Regions from separate parts of the Homo sapiens genome. Here all the other regions are linked to region 1. Evidence: promoter capture Hi-C in 16 types of primary human blood cells and fetal thymus (Javierre and others, 2016). All regions are on one chromosome and are shown on one strand. Each heading gives the region's core, a stretch centred on a gene start or on the middle of the fragment in contact. The rest is flanking DNA. Distances are from core to core; before and after follow the strand shown. Region 1 holds the start of PRSS16 (serine protease 16). Region 2 has its middle 4.6 kb from the start of TRV-AAC1-5. Region 3 has its middle 4.3 kb from the start of TRL-CAA2-1. Region 4 overlaps LINC01012 (long intergenic non-protein coding RNA 1012). Region 5 has its middle 9.7 kb from the start of TRV-AAC3-1.

Region 1 (2,700 bases), core at 63-2,562:
ATATTTGGAGGAAAAGCATCCTAAGGAGAGCAAAAATTCTAAGGAAGGAGTGAGTCTTGTGAAATATGAAATAGTCCAATGCAGTTGGAGCAGTGAACCCAGGAGGGGTAGGAGATGAAATCATGACAGTATATACAACAGGGGGCCAGGTCATACAGAGTTTTAAAAACTGTTTTCAAAACTTTAGATTTACTTTGAGTAAGATGGGGCATCAGGGAAGTGTTCTAAACCAGGGAGTGAATGATTGTGAATGATTGGGCTAATATTTAATTCTGTCTCTCTGTCTGCTGAGTGTAGAATAAATCATGAGGCAGAAACAGGGTGACCAGCTAAAAGCCTTCCATGATATCCCAAGTCAGAGATGATGGTGGCTCAGCAGTGGTAGCACTGAAGGTAGTGAGAAGTCATCAGATTCTGGATATATTTTTTAAATTTATGGGAATAACTTTTTAAATGTACAATATTTCTCATAGTGATAAGTCCCATGAAAAAGAATTAGGAATAAAGTTTGAAAAGGAATAGAAGAGGGCCATAGGTTTGGCAATTTTTAAAAAGCTGACCATGGAAGACCTTTCTGAATGAATGACCTTTGAATAAAGATCCAGTTGAAGTGAGGGAGCAAACCACGTGGGTATATAGGGAAATCACAATCCATAGGGTGGGAACAACAAGAATAAGAACCCTAAGGCAGAAGCAAGCCTGGTATGTTCAAAGAACTGTAAGGAGTCTATGGACAGTGTGAGATTGTGGGTCAGAGAAGCTCGGGACAGTGAAGCAGAGCAGAAAGTGAGGGGGCTGGAAAATAGACAAGGTGAGATTGGGGGACAAAGAGATGAGTATGGAGAGAAAGACTGAAAAAGAGATGGGGGACTGAGAAAAAAGAGACGGAAAGACTGAGTGTGGGAACAACTGAGGGGTACTGAAGATATGCTGAGGGGCAGAAAGAAAAGACTGAGAATAAGTGGGCAACTGGGGTTCCAGAGGAGGTGCTGAGGTGGGGAGAGACAGAGGTTGAAGGACAATAAGGCATGCAAAGGAGGAATCTGAGATAAAGAGAAGGTAGACCGAAGAGCGGAGAGGAGGAGACTGAGACAGCGAGGGCTACTGAGAGCTGAGGGAAGAACAGACTGAGAGGCCCAGAGAGAAGAAACTGGGAGTTCCGATGCTGCATCAGCAGCCTCTGTGTACAGACTCTGGCGTCCCTGCCCCGCTTTAGCAGTTCCTACAGACGCTTGACCTGCCAGGAAAGGAAAGAAACCTGAGCCTCTGCTGAAAGGTGATGGATTTAAGGCCCGGCTGCTGAGGATAAGATAAAGGTCCTCCTGGGGGAGAACAGAGTCCCGAACACCATGGCCGTCTGGCTTGCCCAGTGGCTGGGCCCTCTGCTCTTGGTTTCCCTCTGGGGACTCTTGGCTCCAGGTAAGAGGAGGCTGAGGGTCAAGCAGGGCATCCTAAGGGGGCCAGCCTGACTTCCTTCCCTCCATGTCCCACAGCCTCCCTTCTTAGGCGCCTGGGTGAGCACATTCAGCAGTTTCAGGAGAGCTCTGCCCAGGGCCTGGGCCTGAGCCTGGGGCCAGGTGCTGCAGCCCTCCCAAAAGTGGGGTGGCTGGAGCAACTGCTGGACCCCTTCAACGTGTCCGACAGACGATCCTTCCTACAGGTGAGGCCGGGAGACGGGGAGTCCACTAACCATCCTGCCCTCTCCTCAGTCTCCCTCATCTCTTCCTCAGTCTGCACTTTTTTCTCTCTCCACACCTCAGTTCTCCCCATCCCTCTGCTTGAATCTCATGTTATGCTTGCTGTCAGTATCCCTTTTCCTGCCCTTTGTAGATTTGGCCTTACTCTCTCCTCTCCTCGGGGTCCCACTCGTTTTGTCCCTCAGATCTTGCCCTTCACCATTTCTTTCTCTCTGTCATTCACATTCACTGCTCCTCCCTACCCCCTTGTCCCTGTCCAGACTGGACACAAAACCTACCACCAGGTCTCAGTAGGTAGCAGAAATTTGAACCAGCTTTGGAATCAGACCTAGCTCACAACAGGCACTCAAAGATATCTATCGAAAGAAGGAACAAATTCGCCATTTTTCAGTGCTTCCTCTGTATTTAGTCTCCAAATATCATCCCACTTGGATCTTATTCCTAAATCCATCTGCATTTATTTCTTATTTTACAATTATTACTTCAAGAAATAGCAAGTTCCTTCAATGTGAGAGCCACTCCCTCAGTTCTGGGGATATAAGAGTGAAAAACCAGGTCAAAAATTTGCTTTTGTATATTTTGCATTCTAGATGAGGAGATGAACAGGGGAAAAGTGAGCAAGTAAATAAACAAGCTCATTTCAGACACTGTTAAGTACATAAGGAAAGATCCATTAGGAAGAGAGACTGGAACAAATGAGGAATTGAGAATAAGTCAGGACTCTCACAGTGCCATTTCTTCTTCCCCATCCCACCTCTCAGCGTTACTGGGTGAATGACCAACATTGGGTTGGCCAGGATGGACCCATATTCCTGCATCTAGGGGGTGAGGGCAGCCTTGGGCCTGGCTCAGTGATGAGAGGTAAGAGGCAATGTTGGGGGAAAGGAGTTGGGATGCTGGTGGGGACCAGGAAGGGGAGCTGCATATTGCAATGCTGTGAGACCTGAGGAGTGAAAGGGCTTAAACTCAACTTGCATCTCACCTCCCCACCCCCCACCCATAC
Region 2 (2,700 bases), core at 70-2,569, 510 kb after region 1:
ATTTGTTGAGCTGTTCTCCCCTGGGCGGGAGAGATGCCATGCAGGGAGTCCTAAGCTTCCCATTGTCCCTCAGATCAGTAAAGAAGACCAGCCCTAAGCTGCTGACCACAGGTTCATGGGACTCTTCTGAGGGAATGTGAGGCCCAGAACTTACGCTAGTGATTCTCCAGGTGGACTATTCCTAAGATTCCTTGCCATACCCCCTTCTAGTGCAGAGGGTCTCTGGTATGGCCCACAAGTCTTAATTTTTAGAAGCTTCCAGGTGATTCAGAAGCTGAGGACCTTTGGGAAGATTTTGACAATCCTTTCATTAATGACAAATTTGTTTCATCTTAAAAAACAAAACTTCATCCTTGTATGTGTGGAGGAGGACACTATAGTGAAATTAAAGAAAAAAAAAGTCAAATTATCTGCTCCCTCCATCTACCTGAGGTTTTCTTGCTTGGCATTTGCAAAGAAATTGGGCGCATGGGTGAATACTTTGATTGCTATAAAGAGTAGAGTTTGGCCGTTGATTTTAGTACACTAAAAGTGCAAGGGCAAGAAACATACCAGCACCTTGACAGTTTCTGGGAAGAAACTTAACGGCACCTTCTGGACCCAATCTGCGTGGCGCAGTGGCCTAAAGAGGCGACCGAACCTGCATCCCTAGCTCCGCCTTCCCGGTCCCTGCACACCCCGGCAGCTTCCGCGCGATTCTTCCCGCCCCCGACACCCGCCGCCACACAAAGGCGCTGCGTCCTGGCGGCCAGCGGGGGCTTAGTCTAGGCCCGGCAGGGTTTTCTGGAAGACCAGAGGGCCACCAGGTCACCGAGGTGGGAAGTGAAGAGAGGTTCGACGCTGCCTCAGGCCTGGGCCTGGCCGGTGGGAGACACAGCAAGGACTCTGGGAGCCTGCAGAGCAGAGGCCGCCGCGGGGCCGGGCCCCCGTCTCCTCCTCAGGTCCAAGACCAGAGGGTCTGCAGGGCCCCAGAGCAGCTGGCCGCGCTCCGCTTCCCACCGCGCTCTCTGCTGGAACTCATGTGGTTGTTTATCCTTATTTTGCTAAATTTCTTTATTTGCTGTAACAGTTTGTGTGTGTGTGTGTTTGAGTGTGTGTGTGTAATTTTCAGGGTTTTCTATATATAAAAATCATGTCACGGCCAGGCTTGGTGGCTCACACCTGTAATCCCAGCACTTTGGGAGGCCAAGGTAGGAGGATCGCCTGAGCCCAGGAGTTCGAGACCAGCCTGGGCAACACGGGCAACATAGCGAGACCCTAGTCTCTAAAATTTTTTTTATTAGCCGGGCATGGTGGCAGGCGCCTGTGGTCCCAGTTACTCCGGAGGATGAGGCAGGGTAATCGCTTGAACCAGGGAAGTCGAGGCTTCAGTGAGGCATAATTGCTCTGCTGCATCCCAGCCTGGGTGACAAAGAGAGATCCCATCTCTCTCTCAAAAAAAAGTCATGTTATCTGTGAACATAGATAATTTTACTTTTTCCTTGCCAATACTGTGCTGAATAACATGGTGAAAGTGGGCACCCATTATTCCTGATTGTAGGAGAAAAATTTTCAGTCTTTCGCTGTTGAGAATGATATTAGTTGTATGTTTTTCATAATTGGGCATTATCAAGTTGAGGAAGTTTCCTTCTATTCCTGGTTTACATTGTGTGTGTGTGTGTGTTTTGTTTGTTTGTTTTGACAGAGTCTTGCTCTGTCACCCAAGCTGGAGTGCAGTGGCCGCGATCTCGGCTCACTACAGCTTAGACCTCCAGGGCTCAAGCAATCCTTCGACTTCAGCCTGCCAAGTAGCTAGGACCATAGGCGTACAGCACCACATTTAGAAGTCCCTGAGAAAATTATCTTGGAGGAAAACTCGCAAGTCCGACTATTGGTTTTCCAAGGAAGCCAGTCTCGCCTGTGAGGAGGGATCCTGCTCGCCCTGGGAGCCTACTCAGACACCATGGGGAATGGGGGGTGGGGCTCAGAGCGCGCAGGCTTGGTTTTTTTCCCCCTCCGAACTCCTGAGTTCCAGTGATCTGCCTGACTCAGCCTCCCACAGTGCTGGGATTACAAGTGTGAGCCACTGCGCCTGGCCTATTACTTGTTTTAATAATAACAAAAAACAGCAAAATCTTGCAGAAGGTTGGAAGGTAACCAAGCAGCTTAGCTTCAAACCACGTTTTAAAAACTTTGTTTCTTTTCTTCTTTCTCCCCAGTTTCTAGACATAGCTTTGAGACAAACTGCAGATGTGCTTTCTTTTGTCGTCAATTACTGCCTTGGAATGGGCATTAAAACTGCCTTCCCTTTCGCATCTTATGCCCCCATGCCTTATGCTCATTTATTTACCTGGATGCTTGTTAAGCTCATACCATGCCCACTTATCTGGTCATATATTTCCTTAGAAGCTTCAGGGGCTGAATCCTGATGCAGACCAGACATCTCCAGAATTCTCTCTCCAGTAGGAGATTAATTCAAGGACAATATTCACTCTTGGCTAGAGATTATCTGCAAGATTGACTGTCATTAATTTGTAACTTGATTGGGCCTACAATGTCACTGGCCCCTTCACCAGGTGAAACAATAATTCAAGATAAGCCATCAGAATGAGACACCCACTGGGCACCTCCTGCCTCTTGCCCCTCTGCATTACAAGCTCCTCTCCTTGAAATGCTTGGCCTCTCTCCAGAAATTGGAGAGTGGCAAATTTTGGCCAGCCA
Region 3 (2,700 bases), core at 82-2,581, 360 kb after region 1:
CAGGCTGGTCTTGAATTCTGGGCTTAAAGGATCCTTCCACCTTGGCCTCCCAAAGTGCTGGGATTACAAGTGTGAGCCACCATGCCCAGCCTTCAGCAACCAGCCTTATAGTCTTCCAGTTGAGTCCTAAGAAATCATGGAGCAGAGACAAGCTGTCCCCACTGTTTTCTGCTCACATTCCTGACCAACACATCTGTGAGAGAGAATAAATGATAATTGTTGTTTAAGTTAAGCCATTGCATTTTAGTATGATTTGTTATGTAACAATAGTTAGGTATGTATCAGTCTTGGTGCAATCAGGAGAGAGAAATTACACAGTTATTTGAACATAGAAGTGACCTCACCTGGGGCTGAAACAAAGCACTAAAAGAAGTGCCCTCTACCTCTCACCCCACCCCTGGCTAAGATCCAGACCTTGTTGGGGAGAGCATGGCTGTGACTCACGGAATAGCAGAGAAATGCTCATGGTGCTATGCCAGCAGAATTTGCTTGAAATCTGTCCTCTGGAATTTTTTGGAAATTAATCTTCAAGGGTTTCTTGAAAAGCTCTTCGTGGAGAGGTCTCTCACTGAGGGCACTCTACTACAAAACACTCAAAGAAGATGCCAGGGAAAATTAGTTGTTGCTGGGTGCTGCAGGAGACTGATGCAGGGGAAAGGCATGCGTGATGTAGGAGCTAGGCACTGGGGAAGCAGCAGGCCAAGTAATACATGGGAAGAAAGAAGCAAAACTCACTTTCTTCCGCAATGTCTCTCCACTGCCCTCTACTGACAAAGCTTCAATGCCAATTGGCAAAAGAAAACCAAGGACTCAAGATTCATTTCCACGAAGCAGGCAAAAAGGGTGAATTTGGAGCTGAGAGGCAATAAATCCTGAATGGGTACAAGCAAATGCAGATTTTCTTACTTAAAAATGGGATACTGCCATAATTAATAAATTCTGAACCATGTGACTTTGGGACTTGACAGCAAGTGGAAACTGAAAAGACCTTGAGGAGAATATGAGTAAAAACACCTGAAGACAACTGCTGCCTGTCACTAAGTCCCAAAGTCAGTGATGCTTAATGGAGAGTGTGGAAAATGTTACTAGAAGCTGGAAGAAACCGGACTTTTGTTATCTAGAGACAGAAAGTTTAGCAACACTGTTGTGAAAATGTGGAAAGTAGGCCGGACGCGGTGGCTCACACCTGTAATCCCAGCACTTTTGGAGGCCTAGGTGGGTGGATCACCTAAGGTCAGGAGTTTGAGACCAGCCTGGTTAACATGGTGAAACCCCGTCTCTACTAAAAATACAAAATTAGCTGGGTGTGGTGTCACATGCCTGTAATCCCAGCTACTCAGGAGGCTGAGGCAGGAGAATCGCTTGAACCTGATGGGGGTGAGGAGCGAGGTTGCAGTGAGCCAAGATCACACCATTGCACTCCAGCCTGGGCAACAAGAGTGAAACTCTGTCTCAAAAAAAGAAAAGAAAAGAAAGAAAATGTGGAAAGTAGAAAATATACCTAATGAATTTGAAAGAAAGAAAGAGTGGAAAGTAGAAAATATACCTAATGAATTAAAGAAAGAAAGAAAGAAAGAAAAAAGAAAAGAAAGAAAGAAAGAAAGAAAGAAAGAAAGAAAGAAAGAAAGAAAGAAAGAAAGAAAGAAAGAAAAAGAAAAAAGAAAGAAAGAGGCTGGGAGCTGTGGCTCACGCCTGTAGTCCCAGCACTTTGGGAGGTCAAAGTGGGCAGATCACGAGGTCAGGAGATCGAGACCATCCTGGCTAACATGGTGAAACCCCGTCTGTACTAAAAATACAAAAAAAAATTAGCCTGGCATGGTGGCGGGCACCTGTAGTCCCCGCTACTTGGGAGGCTGAGGCAGGAGAATGGCATGAACCCGGGAGGTGAAGCTTGCAGTGAGCCGAGATCAAGCCACTGCACTCCAGCCTAGGTGACAGAGTGAGACTCCATATCAAAAAAAAAAAAAAAAAAAAAGAAAGAAAGAAAGAAAATGTGGAAAGTAGAAAATATACCTAACGATTTTGCTTATTTAGCTAAGGTTATTTCCAGGCAATATATTGAAGATGCCACCTGGCTTTTTCTAGCTGCCTATAGTAAAATAAGAGAGCAGGGAGATAAACTAAAGAAAGAATACTTTAGGACTTGTTGGATATTCAAAAATAAAACTGCTTCTCATTACCAGCCTGTCAAGATGACAGATAATGCTGTAATTAAGAAAAGGCTTTGATTCTGCTGAGAGAAAGAGAGAAGAAAAGAAAAGGCTTCTGCCACGGCACATTAGCTGGAAAAAAAAAAAAAGTCTTCTAGGAAAACATCAGACCCAAGGCATTGTCAGCAAAACATGGTCTAAAGATGAAGCCAAGGGCATGACTTTATTGCTCTATTCTTTTGTTCTGTACCTTTCATTCTGTATGCACTGATAACTTTGAGTTCTTTGTTGTTCTTCTGGAGGATGATTAGAACTTCCATGTCTTTCCATATGTTTGTTGTTTATGTGATATAAGTGTGAGGAGTCGGAACCAACTACAGACTGCTTGGGCTAACAATTTTTCTCTATTCTGTACAAGTTGCCCCTTACATGCAAGCATGGCCTGGAGTGGGGTGGGATATAAATTTGGGGTTTAGATATCTACAGAAAGCAGAGAGCTAGGCATACTTTCCTCCACCATAATCATGTGCTGGAGGCTCCATCAGCCTCC
Region 4 (2,700 bases), core at 61-2,560, 460 kb after region 1:
TCACACTTCTCTTTTTTGATGTTTAAAGGGCACAGACACCAAAAGCTGAGACTCTGAACTTGATCAGCGTATTTTCAAATTTCAGGAATTCTTCTCATCAGAGAGCCTAACTTGGAAATGACCATTTACCTTTTCCAAATTTTCTTAACCCATAAAGAGGTTAAGGCCAACATAAGGGAGCTAATACATCTGCTGATTGAAAGTCAGATTATCTCAACTGCAAAAAAAAGTTGGGGCTTGAGTTAGATATTAAAAAAATAAAAATGATTCACTGTGAAAAGTGGTACAAAACTATGTTAAACATAACATTGTTGGGACAAAACAAAAATTAATTTTATTGAAAGACTGACTTTTTAAAGTTTTTTAGCTTGTTATTTTATTTCTTTTTTGTTGTTGTTTCTTTGAGATAGTGTCTCAGTCTGTCCCGCAGGCTGGAGTGCAGTGGCACGATCTTGGCTTACTGCAACCTCCACCTCCTGGGTTCAAGTGATTCTTGTACCTCAGCCTCCTAAGGAGCTGGGATTACAGACATGCACCACCACACCCTGCTACATTTTATTTTTTTGTATGTATTTTTAGTAGAGATGGAGTTTTACCATGTTGCCCAGGCTGGTCTCGAACTCCTGGGCTCAAGCAACCCTCCCGCCTCGGCCTCCCAAAGTGCTGGGATTACAGGCTTGAGCCACTGCGCCCAGCCTAGCTCGTTATTTTAAAAAGTATTCCCCATTTCTTGTAAATCGCTTGTTCTCTGCACAGTGGAACATTCTCTTGGCTGATTTGTAGATGGGAAGGCTCTTTCTACCGAACTCAGACTCATTACTGTCAGGAGTAGCAAACGTTAACTTTCTAAATGCATTTTACCCAGAATATAAACCTATGTGCTATTCTTAAATAGATTTAAACTTTCTCAATTCTAACATTTTAATAATTTTAGAACTCATTTCCAACCTGTTTTATACACTGTTCAGCTGATACTTCACAATTAGTACTTTTGATCTAAGTGTTTTCAGGGTGAGATTCCAGATGATCCCAGTAGTTTTGTTGATAAGTCTTCCGTCTTCCCATTAAGTGAAAGTCATATGTTGAAGAATGCAAATCCTTCAGTGTTTAGGTTTTACTCCTGAATTAGTCAGTCTTTCAGACACCCCAGAATAAATCCAGTTACTGCCTCTCATCTTTAAAAACCCTTCTGGTTTCTTCAGTCAGAGAACACAAATCTCCAAGTATTATTGCCAGGCTGAAATTCAGGACACAGCAACTTATTTCGGATGTTAATGTTCCTTGCTCCCCAACTTTATGCAAATGACAAAGGACGAAAACATACAAGGACATGCTTTGGGAGTCCAGGGTGGGAGGATCGCTTGAGCCCAGGAGTTCAAGACCAGCCTGGTCAACATAGTGAAACCTCATCTCTACAAAAAAAATTGAACTTAGCTATGTATATTGGCACATGCCTGTAGTCCCAGCTACTCAGGTTACTGAGGTGGGAGATTGGCTTGAGCCTAGGAATTTGAGGCTGTAGTGAGCCATTATGGTGCGATTGCACTCCAGCCTGGGTGACAGAGGAAGATTCTGTCTCACAAAAAAAAAAAAAAAAAAAAAAAAAAAAAGTATATTATCTATTTGGGAAATCACATTAAAAACCTACACACACCAGGCCGGGCACGGTGGCTCATGCATGTAATCCCAGCACTTTGGGAGGCCAAGGGGGGCGGATCACGAGGTCAGGAGATCGAGACCGTCCCGGCTAACACGGTGAAACCCCGTCTCTACTAAAAATACAAAAAATTAGCCGCACGTGGTGGCGAGCGCCTGTAGTCCCAGCTACTCGGGAGACTGAGGCAGGAGAATGGCGTGAACCCGGGAGGCGGAGCTTGCAGTGAGCCGAGATCGCGCCTCTGCACTCCAGCCTGGGCGACAGAGCGAGACTTTGTCTCAAAAAAAAAAAAAAAAAATACACACACCAAAGAATATACTTTAGGACAAATTATAGACAAGTATATAATAGTATAAGCAGCATTTACAATGAATTCACAATCTTCTTTTAGAAAAAAGGAAAGGATACAGCAATTAAGAGAGTTCCATGCCCTCAGGTTTTATTATTTGACGTGATGGCAGACAGAGGGGATGAAAAGGAGCAGACATCCTTTTTGTGAAAACATTTAGGCCCTCAAGTCAAGAAACTAGGGCTTGAAAGCCCTTGTTTTTGGACTCTAAGGATCTCATGAAAGCTGTGGACTGACTCTTCAGAAAAATACACATACACTTGATATTTTGCACGAGTTTCTTGGTGTTCATGGGTACCCTTCAGGCAAGTGAAATATATTATCTGTCTCAAACTGCATTCTTCTTTGATTTCCTTCACCACAGTGGCTGGAGAACTAAAAATTCTTTCTTTTTCTGATTTCTCTGTAGTTGGGGTAACATGTGACCTGGATCTGATCATTGTGATTCAAGTCAGCGTCATTTAGGGTTTTCGGGAAACATTTTTTGAAAGGGAGCAACTTGGCTGGAACACTCCATCAATTCTTTGCCCTGTGCATTTTTGCCCTTCTTTCTGCCTCTCAGGAATGCAGAGAGAATTCCTGGAGGAACAGCAGCTATCATACATCCGTGATGAAAGCCATGGGACAAAGGCAATTGAGCAAGAAGACAGGAGCTGGGGACATTCTTGACAGTAGTGCCACCTCTGGATGATTT
Region 5 (2,700 bases), core at 95-2,594, 390 kb after region 1:
CTGTGAGATATCACACCACCACCAAAAGGGGCTAAGTATTCTACTTTTAAAATTTTTATCTTCATGTGAAAATGAATCCAATAATTTTTTTTTTTGAGACAGAGTGTCTCTCTGTCACCCAGGCTGGAGTGCAGTGGTGCGATCTCGGCTCACTGCAAGCTCTGCCCCCCGGGTTTACACCATTCTCCTGCCTCAGCCTCCCGAGTAGCTGGGACTACAGGTGCCCACCACCACGCCCGGATAATTTTTTGTATTTTTAGTAGAGACGGGGTTTCACCGTGTCAGGATGGTCTCGATCTCCTGACCTTGTGATCTGCCCGTCTCGGCCTCCCAAAGTGCTGGGATTACAGGTGTGAGCCACCGTGCCCGGCCAGAGTCCAATAATTTTTTAGATTATTTATGGAATATAATTTCAATAGTAGAAAAATTTTCTTTCTCCCTCTTTTTTTTTTTTTCCATTTTGATCTTCTGGATTTCTTTATTGTTTGTTTACTTTTGTTCACCCCTATTTCCATTTCTATTTCTGGTATAAACTGAGAAGATCTGTATCCTTAAAATGCTCCCCTAAGTGATTTTATCCAGAGCATAAATATAGTCTTTTCCATCTCTTGTCATTTCTAAACTGTATTTCATGTAATAGTTTGTTAATTCTTTAAAATTTTGCATAGATAATATGCATGGTTTAAAATATTTTTTGTGTAAAGCTTACCATTTTTCTTATATCCTAGCCACCCAGTTCTCCTCAGAACAGGCTATTGGTTTCTGTTATTAGTTTCCTAGAAAAGCAGAATTATTTATGTTCTGTTCTTTGTCAGATGTCATTCTAGATTAGTTTCTGAGGACGAGCCCATCTCTTCCTGTGTAATGAAAAGCTGGACCACCTAACAGTAGTGTTTTGTTTGTTTTAAGAGATAGCATTTCACTATGTTGCCCAGGCTGGATTCAAGCTCCTAGGCTGAAGGGATCCTCCTGCCTCCGCTTCTCAAGTAGCTAGGACTATAAGTGCCCACCACCCCGCTTGGGTATAGTGTATTTTTTTTTAAGATGAGGCTGGCCACACCCCATAACCTCGTCAGAAATACCAATCATGTGATTTGAATCATGCATTATCAGTCAACCTGAAGACTGAGTTCAAGCAAGACCCTGTCTCAACATAAGAAAAAAACAACACCATCAAAAGCATCCAAATTGGAAAGGAAGAAGTAAAATTGAGCCTGTTTGAAGATAACATGACTTTTTATAGAGACACTCCTAAAGACTCCATTAAAAAGAAGTGTTAATACTAATGAAAAAATTCAATATATTTGCAGAATATAAAATCAACATTCAGAAATCACTTGCATTACTATACAGTAACAATAAACTACATGAAATAATAAACAATAAACTACATAAAAAGAAAAATTAAAGGACAATCCCATTTATAGTAGCACCCCTCCCCCTTAAAAAAGAATTAAACTTAATCATGAAGGTGAAATGTTGTTAATGTTTGTTAAAATTTTCAGTGATGTACAATTAATGCAATCCGTATCCAAATCTATCTGGCAGTTTTTATGAAACAGAAAAAAAGACCATAAAATTCATATAAAACTCATATGAAACTACAAAGAACCCAAAGTCACCAAGTCAATCTTGAGAAAGAACAACAAAGCTGAAGACATCACACTTCCTGATTTCAGCATATACTACAGAGCTACAGTTATTAAAACAGTCTGGTACTAGCATAAAGACAGGTATATAAACCAAAATAACAGAATAGAGAGTCCAGAGATTAATCCATAAATATATGGCCAACTGATCTTTAACAAAGTTGCCAAGAACACACAATGGGAAAAAAACGATCTCTTCAACAAATGATGTTGAGAAAACTAGATATTCACATGAAAAAGAATGAAATTAGACCCTTGTTTACACCATTCACAAAAATTAACTAAAATGGATTAATGACTTAAATCTAAGATCTGCAAATATAAAACTCTGGGAGGAAAGCTTTAGGACATTGGTCTTGGCAATGATTTAATTACTATGACATCAAAATCATAGCCCAAAATAGCAAAAATAGAAAAATGGGATTACATCAAACAAAAGAGTTTCTTTTTCTTTGTTTGTTTGTTTTTTTTTGAGATGGAGTTTCGTTCTTGTTGCCCTGGCAGAAGTGCAATGGTGCAATCTTGGCTCACCGCAACCTCCACCTCACGGGTTCAAGTGATTCTCCTGCCTCAGACATGTGCCACCATACCCAGCTAATTTTGTATTTTTAGTAGATACAGAGTTTCTCCATGTTGGTCAGGTTGGTCTCAAACTCCCGACCTCAGATGATCCACCCACCTCGGCCTCCCGAAGTGCTGGTATTATAGGCCTTCTGCACAGCAAAAAAAAAAAAAAAAAGCAACCTATTAAATGGGAAAACAAATTTGCAAACCATATATCTGATAAGGGGTTAATTTCCAAGATACATAACTCTTACAATTCAGTAGTTAATCAAAACAAATAAAAACAAAAACCTGGTTAAAAATAAAAATGGGCCCGGTGTGGTGTCTCACACCTGTAATCCTAGCACTTTGGGAGGCTGAGGCGGGCAGATCACCTGAGATCGGGAGTTTGAGACCAGCCTGACCAACATGGAGAAAACCCGTCTCTACTAAAAATACAAAATTAGTTGGGCGTGGTGGCGCATGCCTGTAATCCCAGCTGCTCTGG

What was found. Contacts are between HindIII fragments. The CHiCAGO score rates a contact against its expected background, and 5 or more counts as called.
Region 2: a fragment that was not itself captured here is called in contact with the fragment with the promoter of PRSS16 in region 1 in 1 of 17 cell types (endothelial precursors); the score reaches 5.6 in endothelial precursors.
Region 3: a contact is called between a fragment that was not itself captured here and the fragment with the promoter of PRSS16 in region 1, in 1 of 17 cell types (megakaryocytes). The highest score is 5.4, in megakaryocytes.
Region 4: a contact is called between a fragment that was not itself captured here and the fragment with the promoter of PRSS16 in region 1, in 7 of 17 cell types (megakaryocytes, erythroblasts, naive CD4 T cells and 4 more). The highest score is 7.7, in megakaryocytes.
Region 5: a fragment that was not itself captured here is called in contact with the fragment with the promoter of PRSS16 in region 1 in 6 of 17 cell types (erythroblasts, M2 macrophages, endothelial precursors and 3 more); the score reaches 9.3 in erythroblasts.

The regions. Positions count from the first base shown.
Region 1 is chr6:27,246,389-27,249,088 of GRCh38, forward strand. It overlaps PRSS16 (serine protease 16), which reads left to right and starts at 1,313. Exons shown (of 12, transcript NM_005865.4): 1 at 1,313-1,419; 2 at 1,494-1,660; 3 at 2,459-2,558. The coding sequence starts at 1,350. The HindIII fragment of the contact is 3,507 bases long and covers 1-2,700 here.
Region 2 is chr6:27,756,718-27,759,417 of GRCh38, forward strand. No RefSeq gene overlaps it. Among named protein-coding and RNA genes, the nearest start is that of TRV-AAC1-5, 4.6 kb to the left of the region's middle. The HindIII fragment of the contact is 2,133 bases long and covers 254-2,386 here.
Region 3 is chr6:27,608,711-27,611,410 of GRCh38, forward strand. No RefSeq gene overlaps it. Among named protein-coding and RNA genes, the nearest start is that of TRL-CAA2-1, 4.3 kb to the left of the region's middle. The HindIII fragment of the contact is 1,114 bases long and covers 775-1,888 here.
Region 4 is chr6:27,704,224-27,706,923 of GRCh38, forward strand. The region is part of intron 2 of LINC01012 (long intergenic non-protein coding RNA 1012); the gene reads left to right. The region is part of intron 1 of LOC124901291 (a long non-coding RNA gene); the gene reads right to left. Among named protein-coding and RNA genes, the nearest start is that of LINC01012, 12 kb to the left of the region's middle. The HindIII fragment of the contact is 4,279 bases long and covers 1-2,700 here.
Region 5 is chr6:27,639,901-27,642,600 of GRCh38, forward strand. No RefSeq gene overlaps it. Among named protein-coding and RNA genes, the nearest start is that of TRV-AAC3-1, 9.7 kb to the right of the region's middle. The HindIII fragment of the contact is 1,285 bases long and covers 703-1,987 here.